Linked DNA regions of Homo sapiens: all the other regions are linked to region 1. Evidence: promoter capture Hi-C in human tissues and cell types (Jung and others, 2019). All regions are on one chromosome and are shown on one strand. The core of a region is centred on a gene start or on the middle of the fragment in contact, and the rest is flanking DNA. Distances in the headings are between cores, read along the strand shown. Region 1 holds the start of YY1 (YY1 transcription factor). Region 2 overlaps EML1 (EMAP like 1). Region 3 has its middle 83 kb from the start of EVL.

Region 1 (2,725 bases), core at 83-2,582:
TCCGGGGAAGTTGGGGGCGGGCGGGGCAAGCGCCCGCGGCGCCCTCCAGCGGCCGATGGGGTAACGGCAGCGCCGGGCGGGGGCGGGGGCGCGCGTCCCGGAGGCAGCAATCCCTGGCCCGCGAGGCCGCGGCGCAGCCCCGCCAACGACCTCCCGCGTCCCGCCCGGGCCGGGGGCGCGCAGCTGCCGCCACAACGGGCCGGCGGGCGCGCCCGTTGATGCGGGCGCGGGGAGCGAGGGCGTCGGGGAGCGAGCGCGCCGGCCCCTCCCCCGGCCGTCTCCGCCCCGCGCGGCGCTTCCCCCTCTCGGAGAAACTACGCCATTGCGGCCTAGCCGGGCGGCGCCGGCCCCTCCCCCCCGCGGCCTGCCGCCATCTTCGCGGCCCGCCGCCCGCCGCCGCCGCCGCGCCCCCGCCGCCGCACGGCCCGCCATCTTTTGGGGCCGCCATACTTGCCCTGGCGAAGAAGATGGCGGCGCCCATCACACACATAAAACATGGCTTCCCTTCAAAACAAAAACATCCCGGGGCCGGGGCGCGCGGCCGGCGCTCACCTGAGGACCACATGGTGACCGAGAACTCGCCCTCCAGGGTCTTGATCTGCACCTGCTTCTGCTCCCACTTCTTGTTGCCCGGGTCGGCGCCGCCGCCGCCCGCCGCGCCGGCCCCGCCGCTGAGGTAACTCTTCTTGCCGCTCTTCTTGCCGCCGCCCTTCTTGACGCGGCCGCCTCCCGACGACGACGAGCCGCCGCCGCCGCTCTTGCCGGCCGCCGCCACGGTGACCAGCGTTTGTTCAATGTAGTCGTCGTCGCCGCCGGCCGGCGCGGGCACCGGGATGAGAATCTGATCCTCGAAGCCGTCCTCGGCGCGCAGCCCGTCCGAGTCGTCGCCGCCCACCACCTCCTCGCGCGTCTGCACCAGGATCACCTCCTGGTGGTGGTGCACCTGGGTCGGGTCGTCGGTGACCAGCGGCTGCAGAGCGATCATGGGCGGGTGGTGGTGGTGGTGATGGTGGTGGTGGTGGTGGCCGGCGTGCCCGTGGCCGCCCCCGCCGCCGTGGTCGCCACCGCCGCCGTCCTCGTCGTCGTCGTCCTCCTCCTCCTCCTCGCCCACCACTGTGGTCTCGATGGTCTCCACCGGGATGGTCTCCACCTCGATCTCGTGCAGCTCCACGATCTCGGCCGGCATCTCCGAGCCGTCCGTGGCGATGTAGAGGGTGTCGCCCGAGGCCATGGCTGAGGGCTCCGCCGCCACGGCCGCGGCGGCCTCGGCTCCTCGGCTGCGGGCGGGCGGGCGAGGAGGCGGCCGGCCGTGGGGAAGGAAGGCAGAGGGAGGAAGGCGGCGAGCGGGCGGGGGGAGAGGGGGCGGGCGGCGGGGGAAGGGGCGGGCGCCGCGGCGGCGGCGGGGCTTCCCCGCCTCCCTCGCCTCGGTGCGCCCGCGCCCGCGCTCGCTCGGCCGCTGCTCGTCTCGGCTCCCCGCCTCGCCTCGCCTCGCCGCAACCGCCCGCCCTGGCCGCGCCTCCTCCCGCCCTCCGGGCCGGCGCTCCGCTTCCCCCTTCCTCCTGCGCCTCCGCCTCCTTCCACACAAATACCAACTCCTCAACCCGAGCCCAGATCTCGCCGCCGCCGCCACACTCTGCTCGGGCCCGGCCTCGCGAGACTTCCGCGCTGGCCTCAGCCCGCCCCGCCTCGCTGCCACTCGCCCGTTCGCCCTCTCGATTCTCCTCTCGGCCAATCGATCTGTCCGCTGGCCTCCGCGGCCCCGCCCACTCGCCGGGCTCCTCCCGGATTGGGGCCGATGGGACCGGGGGCGGGGCGGCTCGCACGCGCCCTGGCTGGCCCGCGGCGCGTGACGTCAGCGCGCCGCCGCCGCCGCCACCGCCTCCCGCTTCCCGGTGTCGCGCGGCTGCCGCCCTTCGCGGTGCAACAGCCACAAAACCCGCCGCCTCGGGCCGGGGCCGCACTCGGGAACGGGGCGTCGCCGCTACAGCCGCTGCCTTGGGAGCCGGTGAGCGGTCCGCGCGGCCCCGGGCACCACGGGGGCGGGAGCCTGAGGAGAAGGGAGGGAGGGGCCGGCCGGGAGCGGGGTTGAGGCGGGTGGGCGGCCCGGGGGCCGCGCGGGGAGCGGCTGGCGCGTGCGGGGCGGCCCTGTCGCCCCAATAAAGTCTGCTTTGACGAGAATCGCCTGTGCTTCCTTTTTCGCGTCGGGAGGTGTTTGTTCTTGTCGCCTGGCTTCGGGCGAGCGATGGCCGCGGGGTGAGTGTGGAGGACCGAACGGACAAAATCGGGCGACGCGGGCAGCGTCCGGTATCTCGCCGCGAGCGCCCGGCGGGGTGCGGGGCCGAGCGCGGGGTCGGCGCGAGCTCGGCGGAAGCGCCCGCGGAGCCCCAGGGCCACCGTTGGGAGGATGTCCGTTATTCTTTAGTGACCCGCGGAAACCTGAGACGCAGCCGTTGGGTGCCTGTTTCCCCGTAGATCTTAGAACTACAGGGTCCTGGCGGCTTTCTAAAATTTTCTCCTGAGCTTCCCCTTCTTTGCTCTCCAGTCAGCCATTGTTTCCCTTGCCCACCCTTTCCCCCTATTTGTCACTTTCATAGGTGCTCCTTTTTACGCCCACCAGGTTTTGCATTTGTCTCATTTAAAATTCCAAATTTTTTCAGCCGTGTCCTCCATTGTACCTGCAACAGAGCCTAGATTTTTTTTTGTGGCACGGATTAGCGGCAAGTTA
Region 2 (2,725 bases), core at 154-2,653, 320 kb after region 1:
AAAAACCTTCCCACAAAGAAAGGCCCAGGTAGTTTCACCAAATTCACATACATTCTGTCAAATATTTAATATAACACCAACTTTTCACAAACTCTTTCAGAAAACAGAGGAGAGAACACTTCCTAATTTGCTCTGTAAGGCCGGTAGTACTCTCATAACTGAGACAGACAAAGATGCCACAAGAAAAGAAAACTATACACCAATATCTGTTAGAAACATGGAGGCAAAAATCCTTAATAGAATCCTAGCAAACACATGTAAAAGGGATTATACACCATGATTAAGGGGAATTTACCACAGGAATGTGAAGTTGGTTCAACATCTGAAAATTAATAAAATGTAGTGATATTAATAAAATAAGATGAAGGATGAAACCCACATAATAATCCCAACAGATGCAGAAAAAGCATCTGATAAACTCCAACCCCATTCATGCTAAAACCTCCAAACAAATTAGAAATAGAAGGGAACTTTCTCACTATGATAAAGGGCATCTTTATCCCTCATGATGAAAGACTGAATGCTTTTTCTCCTCAGAAAAACAGAAGAAACTTAATAAAATGTAGTGATATTAATATAATATAATAAGACTGAAACAACTTTCTGTGGTTTCAGTAACCTGTGGTCAATTGTGGTCTGCAAATATTACGTATAATACAGTATTCTGAAAGAGAAACCATATTCACATAACTCTTATTACAATATATTGTTATATTGTTCTACTTTATTATTATTGTCATTAATCTCTTACTGTACCTGATTTATACATTTAACTTTGCCATAGGCAAGTATATATAGGAAGAAACATAGTACACTTAGCATTTGTTGTTATCCATAGTTTCAGGCACCTGTGTGGGGTCTTGGAAGGTAGCCCCTGTGGATTGGGAGGGACTATTATACTAAAACTAATCAAAGAAGTTTAGAAAGGTCATAGGATATAAGATCTACGTGCAAAATTCAATCCTATTTTTACATACTAGCAGCCAACCAACTGAAAACAAAATTCAGAAAACAATTCCATTCACAATGGCATAAAAAAAACACTTATTTTGGAATAAATTTAACAAAGGAAGTGCAAGACTTGTACACCTACAACTATAAAGCATTGCTGAGAAAAAGTAAAGACCTAAATAAATGGAGAGACAGTCTTTGCTCATGATAAGAGCCACTATTGTCCAGGTGGCAATTTCCCCCATATTGATCTGTAAATTAAACATAATCCCTCTTACAATCCTAACAGGCTTTTCAAAGTTAGAAATTGACGAGCTGGCCTAGTGTGGTGCCTCACACCTGTAATCCCAACACTTTGGGAGGCCGAAGTGAGACGATCTCTGGAGACCAGGCGTTTGAGACCGGCCTGGGCCACAAAGTAAGACCCTGTGTCTACAAAAAAATTTCAAAAAACAAAATAATAAAAAAAGACAAGCTGATCCTAAAATTTATATACAATTTTACATATAGTAGGAACCTAAAATAGCCAACACTATTTTGAAAAAAACAACAAATTTGCAGCAGTGACACTACTCAATTTGAAAATTTCCTCTAAGGTCACAGTAATCGGGGATAAACACAGGTGAAGGGGGCAGAACTGAGTATCCGGAAATAAACCTTTACATTTCTGATCGATTGATTTTTGACAAAAGTGTCATTGATAATTCAACAGGGAAAGACTGTGTTTTCAACAAAAAGTGCTTGGGACAACTAGATACCTCTATGCAGAGCAAACAGGCTCTTCCTTCTCACCATCCACAAGAAACAAGTCTAGTGTACTCTTGTAACTCTTGTGTAATTAACTCAAATGGATCATAGACTCGAATGCAAGGGCTAAAACAACTCTTCTAAAAGAAAGCATACAAGGAAATATTCATGATCTTGGATACGACCCCAAAGGCATGATCCACAAAAGGAAAAATTGATAAACTGAACTTCATCAGAATTGAAAGCTTTTGTGCTTTAAAAAACCCCATTAAGAAAATGAAGGCTGGGCATGGTGGCTCACACCTATAATCCCAGCAGTTTTGGGAGGCCGAGGCAGGCAGATCACTTGGGCCCAGGAGTTCAAGACCAGCCTGGGCAACATGGCGAAACCCTGTCTCTAACAAAAATACAAAAATTAGCCAGACGTGGTGGTGTGTGCCTGTGTTCCCAGCTACTTGGGAGGCTGAGGTGAGAGGATTGCTTGGACCTGAGGTCAAGGCTGCAATGAGCCATGATCATGCCAGTGCACTCCAGCCTGGGTGACAGAGTGAGATGCTGTCTCAAAAACAAACAAACAGAAAAAAAGATAAGCCATACATTCAGAAAAAATATTTGCAAATCATCTATCTGATAAAGACTGTATATACGGAATATATAAAGAGGACTTACTACTCAACAGTAAGACAAACAGCCCAATTAAAAATTGGCAAAATATCTGAATAGATATTTCACCAAAGAAGATATTGGAATGACTAATATGCACATTAAAAAATGCTCAATATCAATAGTCATTAGGGAAACACCAATTAAAACCACAATGAGATGCCATTACACCCTCTTTAGAATGACTATAATCAAAAGGACAATAACAAGTATTGGGAGGATGTGATGATACTAGAACCCTAGCACATGGCTGACGAGAATGTAAAATAGGACAGGCAGTCTGGCAGTTTCATAAAATGTTAAACATAAGTTTACCATACAATCCGTCAATTTCACTCCTAAGAATTTACCCGAGAAATGAAAA
Region 3 (2,725 bases), core at 166-2,665, 260 kb after region 1:
AGTAACTCTTTCTTAACCTAAGTTTTCTGGTACAATTATCGCCTCTACGTCCAAATATTATGTCTCCTGTTTTATCTTTCTTTTGTCTATTTCATCTTTCATAGAGAATGTCACTGGATCTTTCTTAGAAGGTGATGCATCAATAGCAACTGCAGTTTCTAAACCAAAATTTATCACATATGAAGTCATATAGTCATCTGACAAAAGGGCAGAATATTTGAAACCAGAACTGTCCCATATCCTCATGGAAGATAAACCCTAGAAAATAAATACAGGGTGGTGAGGCTGGGGTGGGGTGGAGTAGGGCAGATAACTAACCTTTACTGAATATCATAAGCTGAGAACTTCTCATGTATTCTCATTTGATCCTCACAAAACCCTCTGAAGAAAGTGAACTGTCCTCATTTATACTTGAGAAAAACGGAGGCTCATAAAGGTTACGTAAATTGCTAAAAGTCAGCTGATAAGTAGTACCTCTGGGGCAGAATCCAGGTCTGACTCTAAAACCCAGGCTGCTCAGTATACAGGGGTTAAATTAAACTAAAACATTTTAAATCTAACTCAAATTCTTTTTAAGAAGTCCCTTTACATACCTACATTAACTGCAAACTGAAGAGTAGATGTCTTTCACACAGCCCTAAAGACAAAGACAATGCATCTTCGTATGAATCGCTCACAGAGGAACTGGGAACAGGGCTCCCTCCCCTGGTGAGCAGACAGAACTACACCATTTCAAAGTACAGTATTTTTTCCCCCCGCTCTCCCTCTTAACCCCATTTACTTCTCTCTCCTGATTCCTTTCCAAAGTCCTTCCTTTGGTGCTTGTTTTTGGGAGAACCTCCAAGTTAAACCTCTAGGATTAAACTTCTATTCACTAACTTTATCTTCTTCTTCTTTAAAATTAACATTCTGGTAGTATATATTGATAGCCTTTAAAATGTTTATACCCTTTGGTCCCAAAAATACCATTAAAATATATATTACGAATAAATTATAGTATACCATCTGACAGACTATTATTCAGCTATTTTAACTGTTTTCAAAGAATATTTAGCTGTTTTCAAAGAATATTTAGTAAGGGGGAAGTGCACATATATCAAATGTACAATGCCCAATACAAATATACAGTACACTTTCAATTTTGTAAAAATGTTTCACTTGTACCTGGGAATGATAAAGGAACTACACCACAGGTTTGATGTGGTTATCTGTAAAGAGCAGGATCAATGCTTATCTGTATTGTCTTCTTTATATCATACCATTCTGTTTTCATACTCTCCTTAACTGTTTCATGAAGGGACCGGCCACTCTTCTCACCCTCACCCCGACATCAGCTGGAAGTGCTTTCCCCTGAGTTACCACCACTCTTACTGCAGCACTTGCGATACATTCATGTGGCAACTCAAGAGTCCCTTCATCAAGCTTATCCAGACAGACCTCGTTTCATTGGGCTTCACTTTATTGAGCTTCACAGGTATTGCGTTTTTTACCAATTGAAGGTTTGTAGCAACTGCCCTGAGCAAATCTATTGACATCATTTTTTCCAATACCCTATGCTCACTTTGCTAGCATTTTTAAGCAATAAGGTATTTTCTAATGAAGGTATGTACATTTTCTAGACATAGTGCTACTGCATACTTAACAGACTATGGTATAGTGTAAACATAACTTCTATATGCACTTGGAAACAAAAAAATTCATGTGACTTGCTTTCTTACAATATTTGCTTTACTGCTTTATTGTGCACCCACTGTATCTCCAGGGTAAGTCTACTGCAAGGTTCCTCAAACATGGGCAGTACACATATTCTCTTTAAAGGGGAAAAATCTGTATGTGAAACAATATGATTTAATTTATATTCATTCAGCTTATATATATAATTGTTACTTTTCTTTTTTTTAATTTTATTTTTGAGACAGTTTCACTCTGTTGCCCAGGCCGGAGTGCAATGACATGATCTCGGCTCCTGCAACCTCCCCATCCCGGGTTCAAGCAATTCTTCTGCCTCAGCCTCCCAAGTAGATGGGATTACAGGCGCCCGCCACCACGCCTGGCTAATTTTTGTATTTTTAGTAGAGATGGGGTTTCACCATGTTAGCCAAGCTGGTCTCCAACTCCTGACCTCAGGTGATCAATCCACTGCCTCAAACTCCCAAAGTGCTGGGATTACAGGTGTGAGTCACCATGCCTGGCCTATTATTTTTCTTAATCAACAGAAGTGCTAGCCAAAAGCCTAAAAAGCAGATGCCTACACTTTTTTTTTTTTTTGAGATAGGATCTCAATATGTTGCCCACCGCCGCCGGTCTCAAACTTTTGGCCTCAAGCCATCCTTCTGCTCAGCCTCCCGAGTAGCTGGGATTACAGGCATGTGACACCACACCCAGCTTATATACACAACTATAAAACTAAGTTTAAATGTCTTATGTTTATATAACTAGATAAGCAAAAAACAAACTTATAAATTAAATACAAACAAAATCACCAAACCAGCAAAATTCAAAATAACATTAATCAATGATGCCGCTCAAATTAAAATCACTGCCCACAAGGTAAATATGGTAATGGCATAGGCCTAAAAACAGGCAGACAGAACAAGAGAGCCTGGAAAGATACACACGGAATCCCTATAGCCCTTACAAAAGCCACCTTAGGAAATGCCCCGTACCTGCAATTTGCAGCACTGGGTTCAGAAATATATTTGGACCCAACTGTGATAGCTAGTAT

The links. The method cuts DNA at HindIII sites, captures the fragments that hold promoters and counts their contacts. A contact is called where the count stands out against the background at its distance.
Region 2: a fragment that was not itself captured here is called in contact with the fragment with the promoter of YY1 in region 1 in 1 of the 25 tissues and cell types used here (heart right ventricle).
Region 3: a contact is called between a fragment that was not itself captured here and the fragment with the promoter of YY1 in region 1, in 1 of the 25 tissues and cell types used here (IMR-90 fibroblasts).

The regions. Positions count from the first base shown.
Region 1 is chr14:100,237,751-100,240,475 of GRCh38, reverse strand. It overlaps YY1 (YY1 transcription factor), which reads right to left and starts at 1,332. Exons shown (of 5, transcript NM_003403.5): 1 at 553-1,332. The coding sequence starts at 1,231. YY1-DT (YY1 divergent transcript) reads left to right here and starts at 1,855. Exons shown (of 2, transcript NR_189150.1): 1 at 1,855-2,005. RefSeq lists silencers at 1-410, 681-730, 1,221-1,290, 1,441-1,520, 1,581-2,180 and enhancers at 421-580, 1,418-2,270. The HindIII fragment of the contact is 4,615 bases long and covers 1-2,725 here.
Region 2 is chr14:99,922,497-99,925,221 of GRCh38, reverse strand. The region is part of intron 17 of EML1 (EMAP like 1); the gene reads right to left. Among named protein-coding and RNA genes, the nearest start is that of EML1, 130 kb to the right of the region's middle. The HindIII fragment of the contact is 6,286 bases long and covers 1-2,725 here.
Region 3 is chr14:99,980,616-99,983,340 of GRCh38, reverse strand. It overlaps a transcript of EVL not described here. Among named protein-coding and RNA genes, the nearest start is that of EVL, 83 kb to the left of the region's middle. The HindIII fragment of the contact is 8,150 bases long and covers 1-2,725 here.